2 separate regions of the Homo sapiens genome follow, and region 1 is linked to region 2. Evidence: promoter capture Hi-C in human tissues and cell types (Jung and others, 2019). All regions are on one chromosome and are shown on one strand. Each heading gives the region's core, a stretch centred on a gene start or on the middle of the fragment in contact. The rest is flanking DNA. Distances are from core to core; before and after follow the strand shown. Region 1 overlaps PRKAR2A (protein kinase cAMP-dependent type II regulatory subunit alpha). Region 2 holds the start of CELSR3 (cadherin EGF LAG seven-pass G-type receptor 3).

Region 1 (3,962 bases), core at 305-2,804, 160 kb before region 2:
GCCAGGCTGGTCTCGAACTGACATCAAGTGATCTGCCCGCCTTGGCCTCCCAAAGTGCTGGGATTACAGGCGTGAGACACTGCGCCTGGCCCTGTTTTCATTCTTTTTTTTTTTTTTTTCTGACATGGAGTGTTGCTCTGTCGCCCAGGCTGGAGTGCAGTAGTGCAATCTCGGCTCACTGCAACCTTCACCTCCCAGGTTCAAGCGATTCTGCTGCCTCAGTCCCCTAGTAGCTGGGACTACAGGTGCACACCACCATGCCCGGCTAGTTTTTGTATTTTTAGTAGAGACAGGGTTTCACCATGTTGGCCAGGCTGGTCTCAAACTCCTGACCTCGCGATCCGCCCGCCTCGGCCTCCCAAAGTGCTGGGATTACAGGCGTGAGCCACTGTGCCTGGTCCTGTTTCCATTCAAAAGGGAGTTCTTGACTGTCTTTCAAGGGTGTGGTAAAACTTAAAGATAATGTATGCTAAATATCTAGTGTCTGGTGTGATAACTGTAATTGGTTGTTTAATCATTTCTATTGATCCTAGAACTCATATCTCTCAAGAACTCATATCTCTAAAAACCAGGGAACTTGCATATTTAAAAATTCTTGGGAAATTGGATTATCAGTAAGAGTTTTGATTGGAAAATACAGAATTGTAACAGGAAAAATAGCAATAGCTGGAAGGGAGTGGGGATGGGTAGGAGGAGGTATTTCCCTAGTTCTGGGAGCATGAAGCAAAGCTGGTCTTTACAGCAGAGAATGATCCTTTTAGGTCTGGATAGCTGGTGTTCCTAGAGTTGAAGTTTCTGCCCCTGGGTAAGTAGTGCTCTGTGTCATCTCTGACTTGACCCACAATCCCCACCACTCCTTGCTCTGATCTTGCCACAGTCAGATCCTATACTTAGGGAGACGTTCTTTCTCTTTCTGTGAGGCATGGCTTACGCTGGACTAATCATTCCACCCTTGTCCTACTGTTACAGTCTGTGTTTAGGAGTAAATGGGGGAGTAATTAAAACTGTGTGATTGGAGATGGTCATGGCATTGCCCCTGACATAGGGAGCCTGGAGTAACAGGAACTGTGAAGTTTATTGGTTCTATTCTGGACCTATTGAATTTCAGGTCCAACTCAGGGAGTTGGAGTTCCAGCTGGCATTTAGCCAACATTGGGAATGTGGGTCTGGAGAGCACAATGGTCATGAGTCAAGCTCACTTTTTCACATTTCTTTTCCTTTGCATATGCCTTCCCTTCTGCCTGGAATGCTGTCCTCCCCTTCTTGTTTCTCTGCTGAACTGCTACTTGTCTTTTATCAACCAGTTCAAGGGTTTCCTTTTCTGCACAGCAGCAACCCTATGAGGTAGGTGCTATTATTATCCTGGTTTTATAGATGAGGAAAGTGAGGCACAGAGGTTAAGTAACTTATTCAAGGTCACACTGCTAGTAAGTGAGGTGACTGGATTTGAACCCAAGCAGCCTGGCTCAGAATCTATGCTTATAACTACTTCATTCTTACTGGTTTCTAGGTACTTGGTAAGTACTTATCATATGAATCGAGTGTTCACAGTAGTCATCTATGTGCAAGAGAATTAAGGAGTCAGGTTCTCTGTTTTAGGACAGTATTTCCAGTGAGACAAAAGGCAATCCCCAAATGTTTCCTAATGTGTTCCCTTTTCTCCATTCCCGTTACCATTCAAGCTTTCTTCATTTTTTTGTCAGGAATATTACAGTAGGCCCATTACTGGTCTTCCCACTCCGTGTCTTATTCCATTGGTGATACTATTATTAGAATAATCTTTCCAAAATGCATGTATGACCCTCTTATTCCCTTGCGGTAGATCTACTCCATTGGCTCCACAGTGCCTAAAGCAGTTCCTGATCCAAACTAAAGAGCGAGCTATTCTGTATCCCCAGTTTAGAATATTCCAGAGAAGGAATGGCTTGGGTTGGGTCATATTCCGTTTTTGGAATAAGTTACCATGAATGTTCTATGCTTGTTCCAAGCAAGTTACCATGCTTAAGAACACTGATTTGCCTGGCTTGGATCATGCACCCTATCCTATGACCAAATTGGAAGTAGTAGGCAGAGTTGGGAGTGAAGTCCCACAAGGACTTCACATCTGTGAGAGGCCACTCCTAAAGGATAACTCTGGTTACCTAACTAGGAGAAGGTAGGGGTTTGGAGTAGTGTCACAGGAGGTGGGTTGACACAGTGGTATGGCTGAACACTGTTGTGGCCTTCAGCCTCCCCACTGCCTTCCTGTGTTATTTCAGCAGATGTCCACTCTGGTCAGCACTGGGACAGGGGAGGATAAAAGTGCACTTGACTATAGGAGCTTATCATCTGTCTGGTAGGGGCAGCAGTAAGCAAACAGGCAACATGATCCTTCCACAGGAAAAAGCTGGGGGGATTCTAATAAACATTATATTGCTAAGGATCCATAATTAAATAATGGAATGGTGGAATTTATTTCAAAAAATGTAAAACAAGTATTTTATTGATTCACACTTTTACTTTTCCTCAGTTGTCAAATTTAGATGACTCAGATTCTGGCTTGACCACTTCCTAGCTGTGTGACCTTGGGTACAATTCTCTGAGTCTCAGTCTCCTCAGCTACAAAATGGGATGGTAATAGGGTTGTTGTGAAGGGTATATGTGATGATGCATTTAAAATGGTTGGCATAATACTTGCACGTAGTGGGACTCAAAAATTGTAACTAACAAAAAATGTTTGAGGGTGGGCGTTGTGGCTCATGCCTGTAATCCCAGCACTTTGGGAGGTCAAGGCTGGCGGATCACCTGAAGTCAGGAGTTCGAAACCAGCCTGGCCAACATGGTGAAATCCTGTCTCTACTAAAAATACAAAAATTAGCCAGGTGTGGTGGTTGGCGCCTGTAATCCCAGCTATTTGGGAGGCTAAGGCAGGAGAATCGCTTGAGCCCAGGAGGCGGAGGTTGCAGTGGGAGGTTGCAGTGAGCAGAGATTGCACCACTGCACTCCAGCCTGGGCAACAAGAGCGAAACTCTGTCTCAAAAAAAAAAAAGTGTTTGAACAGGGTATACGTGGCAGAATAGCAGCTGTGAAAAAAAATGTGAAACTGCAGTATTTTAAAGATAGATAATTTTGAAAAACCAGCAAACAAACCCTCCACAAAACTATGATATCCCTAACATTTTACTGTCTCAGTACTTCTATACATAGGGTCATTAAGTCTGCCCTCGGGTCATTTGTGGTAAGTAGTACTACCCTTATTGAATTTGTGAGAATACTGAGGCTCAGAGAAGTTTAAGTTCTCTTTTCTTTTTTTTGAGACAGGGTCTTGCTGTGTCACCCAGGTTGGAGTGCAGTGGTGTAATCACAGCTCAAGCTCCCTGGCTCAAGCCATCCTCCCACCTCAGCCTCCCAAGCAGCTGGCACTGTAGGTGCACACCACTGTGCCTGGCTAATTAAAACATTTTTTTTTTGTAGAGACAGGGTCTCACTCTGTTGCCCAAACTTGTCTCGAACTCCTGGGCTCAAGCAGTCCTCCCTGCCTTGGCCTCCCAAAGATTATGGGTGTGAGCCACTGCACCTGGCCAGGTTTAAGTTCTGAAGCTAGAATGCAAACCTGTCTTTTGTGGTGAAATCTTATTACTGTTACCCTTGCTTTGTTCTCCAGAGTGTTGTCAGATATTAAAAATGAATGGCTTATATTGTAAAATGACAGACTAAAGATTAGTGGTATAGTTTTGATTATTTGAAAATATAGCAGATAATTCTTGTACAAATAATTCGGCAGGGCAGCTCTTCGGCTTTTGGTTTCTTAATAGGCTGATTTTTGCTTTTAACAGGATGCCTTGGGTATGGTTGGAAGTGCCTACCTGCCTGGCTGGCATGTAAATGATAGAGAAATCTGATCTGCCTCTTTACAACTTTGCATCAGAGCAGAGGGCAGCTGAGATAGTAGAGTTTGTTAGATGGTACCTTTTGGCTGTAGA
Region 2 (3,887 bases), core at 1,373-3,872:
CACATGGTGAAGCCCCATCACACCACTTCACTCCAGCCTGGGTGACAGAGTGAAACTCCATCTCAAAAAAAAAAAAAAAAAAAAAAAATGAGGTTAAACCACATAGGGGTCTTATTAGGAGGCAAGGGCAAGATTTGGAGGTGGAGAGAAGAACTACCACCACTATCACTAACATCTGGTTTTTGTTTTTTTTTTTTTACCGGGAGTGCATTAGGAGCTGCCAATGGGGCTGGGGCATAGAGGTGAGTGCAGATTGAGGGAGAGGGGCTCCACAGAACAGCCACAAAGGGAGGATGACAGTGGGATGACACACAGCAGGCAGCAACATGGAGAGTGATCCGCAATCAATCTCACTACTCAGAAGTGAGGAGCTTTGCTCTCCAAAAGGAGTGTTAGCTGGGACCAGCGCCAGCCCTATTGGTGAGAGGGCAGGGCTTGATTTCCCTCAGCCATAGTCCCTTTATGTCTCTGCACATTTGCCCACACAGTCTCCAAGACCTAGGATGCCCACCCCCAATCCCTATCCCTCCCTGCCCTTCCTTTGCAGATGCGGATCTCCCCTTGGTCATTCAAGGCACTGCTCAGGCATCTTATGCAAGAAGGCGTCCCAGGTTGCGAAGGTGACTCAGACGCCTCCTTTGGGACTCCAACACCCTTCCCCGGCAGAGCCCCTGCCTGTCTGCCTCCGTGGTGTCAGGTTTTGTGCCCTCTACTCACTAGATTGTGGACACAGAAAGCGCTGGTGCTGTCAAAACCACTTCTGGGTTGCCGGGCGCGGTGGCTCACACCTATAATCCCAGCACTTTGGGAGGCCAAGATGGGCGGATTGCTTGAGCCCAGGAGTTCAAGACTAATCTGGCCTACATGGTGAGACCCTGTCTCTATAAAAAATGCAAAAATTAGCCAAGTGTGATGACATGTACCCGTAGTCCCAGCTACTCGGGAGGCTGAGGTGAGAGAATCGCCTGGGGAGTTCGAGGCTACGGTGAGCTGTGATCACCACTGCACTCCGAAAGAGTGAGACCTTGTCTCTAAATAGATAAATAAAACTACTTTGGGGGACTCGCTCCTCCAGCCCCTGCACCGATTGGCTCCCATTCAAAGGAGTTCAGCCCTAAGTGCCTCTGCAGATCTTCCACCCCCACTCACAAACCCGTAGGAACCCCGGCCGTGTATCAGGCCCAGAGCTCTGATCCTGGGGAGGTCCTCAGATTCGTAGACAGGAGAGGGAACAACTGGACACCTGTTGCCTGACCTTGGTAGCCACAAGGGGCGCTCGGGAGGTGGAACCCGCAGAAGCCCCGCCTCCCGGAAGCGGAGCAGTCAAGGGGCGAAAGGATGCGCCGACTGATTGGTTGATGGTGATGTCATAGGGACCGTTCGGGGCGGGCCAGAGGCCTTGGCCAGGAGTTCCTCGCCTGTTAGAACCAGGATCCACCCCATCGCGGGAGCCGCACCCTGTGGAGCGTTCTGGGGTCCCGGCCCTGACCTCTTCCTGGGCTTCGGGATGCCCGCGTCCTCTGCACCCGGCGCTGCAGCTCGTTATCGATTCCGCCTTTGGAGGCCGGTCCGTATAGTGTACCTCCCGGACTCTCTCACGGTTAGCCGGCAACCCGCGGAGCCCCCTCCCCCATGCGATGAGTCCGCCGTGAGGGGCGGGGCCTCCCATTGTGCCAATAGAAACAATGACTGACCGATTGGAGTGCTCCGCGTTCACCCCTCGCCTCCGCTCCTCTCGTGACGTCTGTTGCGCCAGGTCCACCCATTGGCCTGGCGAGACCGGCGCGTGCCAGGAGTTACGCAGGGAGAGCTGGAATGCACCGAGGGTGGGGGGAGGACTGAGTTTCTGTGTCAGTCCCTTCAAGGGGTTAAGGCATGCGGTCGTGACGGACGAGGGGCGGGGACCCGAAGAAGCGGGGCCCGCAGCCATGGGGCAACGCCGGGCTCCACGTGGCATCCCAGAGCACTCGGGACTCGCAGCCTGGGAGGGGGTGCAGCCTCCAGTGAAGGGGCCCCGAGCCCGGGAGACTGCTGGGGACCAGCAAGGCAGGGAAGAATTTGGCCTCTGCTCCCGCCTCGGGAGGGTCATCTCTGGTCCCTGCTCCGCAGGGGCGATCCAAACAAGCAGGTGGTCGCGACATGTTTCATAAAACTAGCTGATGGGATAGTTAAAGCTATTGTTCGGGGTGCTGGCACCCCAGACCCCTCTCCAGCCATCGTCCCCTCTACCCCAGGATTTCACACAGTACCCCCTCCCAGAGCTATGAGAACGCTCATGGGCACCAAAATTTCAGACCAAAATCCGGGACACGGTTCAGAACTAGTGGTCAGGAAGGGGGAACAAGAGATCTGGAAGGACAGAAAAAGGCTGGGAGACGGAGCTGGGACAGCGCCCTAGAAGGAGGGAGGTGGGTGAAGGCGGCGACCGAAAGTGGGGAGGGCGGACCCAACGACGGCGAACCTTCGCGCTCTGTTCAGCACCAGGAGCAACGCTCACGTCCTCAATAAAGATGGCGGCAACATCTTCGGTCCTCAGAGCTGCCATGCGCGATGGGTTGTACCACCGTGTTTCGGGCGCCGGGGCAGAGGTGGAGCGAACCATCGGGGCGGCCGGGAGCCATGTTGGAGCGGCGGGAGGCGGCAGCAGCGTCGGGGATGCTGTGGTGGGGGCGGAAAAAGCCAGGGCCGCACGCCGGAGGGGCTCCGGCCGCGGAGTAGATGGTGCCCAGAGGGCGGCGGGGGTGCGGAGAGACAGGCGGAGGGGCGGGGGCCCGGGGCGGCGGCAGGGGCCCGGGAGGGGGCCCGAGCGGCGGGGCCAGCCCAAGGCCCGGACCGGGGCGGGGGGCGGTGGAGGCCGTGCAGGGAGGCGGGGGATGATGGCGAGGCGGCCGCCGTGGCGGGGCCTCGGGGGACGGTCGACCCCCATACTCCTGCTCCTTCTCCTCTCTTTGTTCCCCCTCAGCCAGGAGGAGCTGGGGGGCGGTGGGCACCAGGGCTGGGACCCAGGCTTAGCTGCCACTACGGGGCCAAGGGCGCATATCGGTGGCGGAGCCTTAGCTCTTTGTCCGGAGTCTTCCGGGGTCCGGGAGGATGGGGGGCCTGGCCTGGGGGTCAGGGAGCCTATCTTCGTGGGGCTCCGAGGGAGAAGGCAAAGCGCCCGGAATAGTCGAGGGCCCCCTGAGCAGCCGAATGAGGAGCTGGGGATTGAACACGGCGTCCAGCCATTGGGCAGCCGCGAACGAGAGACAGGACAGGGACCAGGGTCTGTGTTATACTGGCGCCCAGAGGTCTCCTCTTGCGGGCGGACAGGACCTTTGCAAAGAGGTAGTCTGTCACCAGGGGCTCTGTCCTCAGGGGTCCCGGGCTCGGGGAACAGCTCGCCCCTCCCTTCAGACTTTTTGATTCGGCACCACGGTCCCAAGCCGGTGTCCTCCCAGCGGAACGCTGGGACAGGCTCCCGCAAAAGAGTGGGCACCGCGCGCTGCTGTGGGGAATTATGGGCAACAGGGAGCAAGGGTCAGGGCGAGAGAGCCACGACATCCGGAGCAGAAAGGACAGCCCCCCGGCGGAACTGTCTTCCAGGGGCCTCGGGATCTGGCCCCGAGCTGGATTCAGCACCACGCACGGCGAGGACAGCTCCTGCATCAGGTTCAGCACCCCGCGAGTCTCGGACAGCTCCCGAGCCGGCGCCCAAGCGCATGCGCTCCCGGGGTCTCTTCCGCTGCCGCTTCCTCCCGCAGCGCCCCGGGCCGCGTCCCCCGGGACTCCCGGCCCGTCCTGAAGCCAGGAAAGTAACCTCGGCGAACCGGGCACGCTTTCGTCGCGCCGCAAACCGCCACCCGCAGTTTCCGCAGTACAACTACCAGACGCTGGTGCCGGAGAATGAG

Evidence for each region. The method cuts DNA at HindIII sites, captures the fragments that hold promoters and counts their contacts. A contact is called where the count stands out against the background at its distance.
Region 1: a fragment that was not itself captured here is called in contact with the fragment with the promoter of CELSR3 in region 2 in 1 of the 25 tissues and cell types used here (spleen).

The regions. Positions count from the first base shown.
Region 1 is chr3:48,818,074-48,822,035 of GRCh38, reverse strand. All of the region lies in intron 1 of PRKAR2A (protein kinase cAMP-dependent type II regulatory subunit alpha), which reads left to right. Among named protein-coding and RNA genes, the nearest start is that of PRKAR2A, 28 kb to the left of the region's middle. The HindIII fragment of the contact is 9,279 bases long and covers 1-3,962 here.
Region 2 is chr3:48,661,621-48,665,507 of GRCh38, reverse strand. It overlaps CELSR3 (cadherin EGF LAG seven-pass G-type receptor 3), which reads left to right and starts at 2,622. Exons shown (of 35, transcript NM_001407.3): 1 at 2,622-3,887. The coding sequence starts at 2,874. LINC02585 (long intergenic non-protein coding RNA 2585) reads right to left here and starts at 1,740. Exons shown (of 3, transcript NR_111921.1): 1 at 1,695-1,740. RefSeq lists enhancers at 216-800, 1,297-1,656, 1,971-2,556, 2,427-2,616, 3,728-3,887 and 1 more. The HindIII fragment of the contact is 20,539 bases long and covers 1-3,887 here.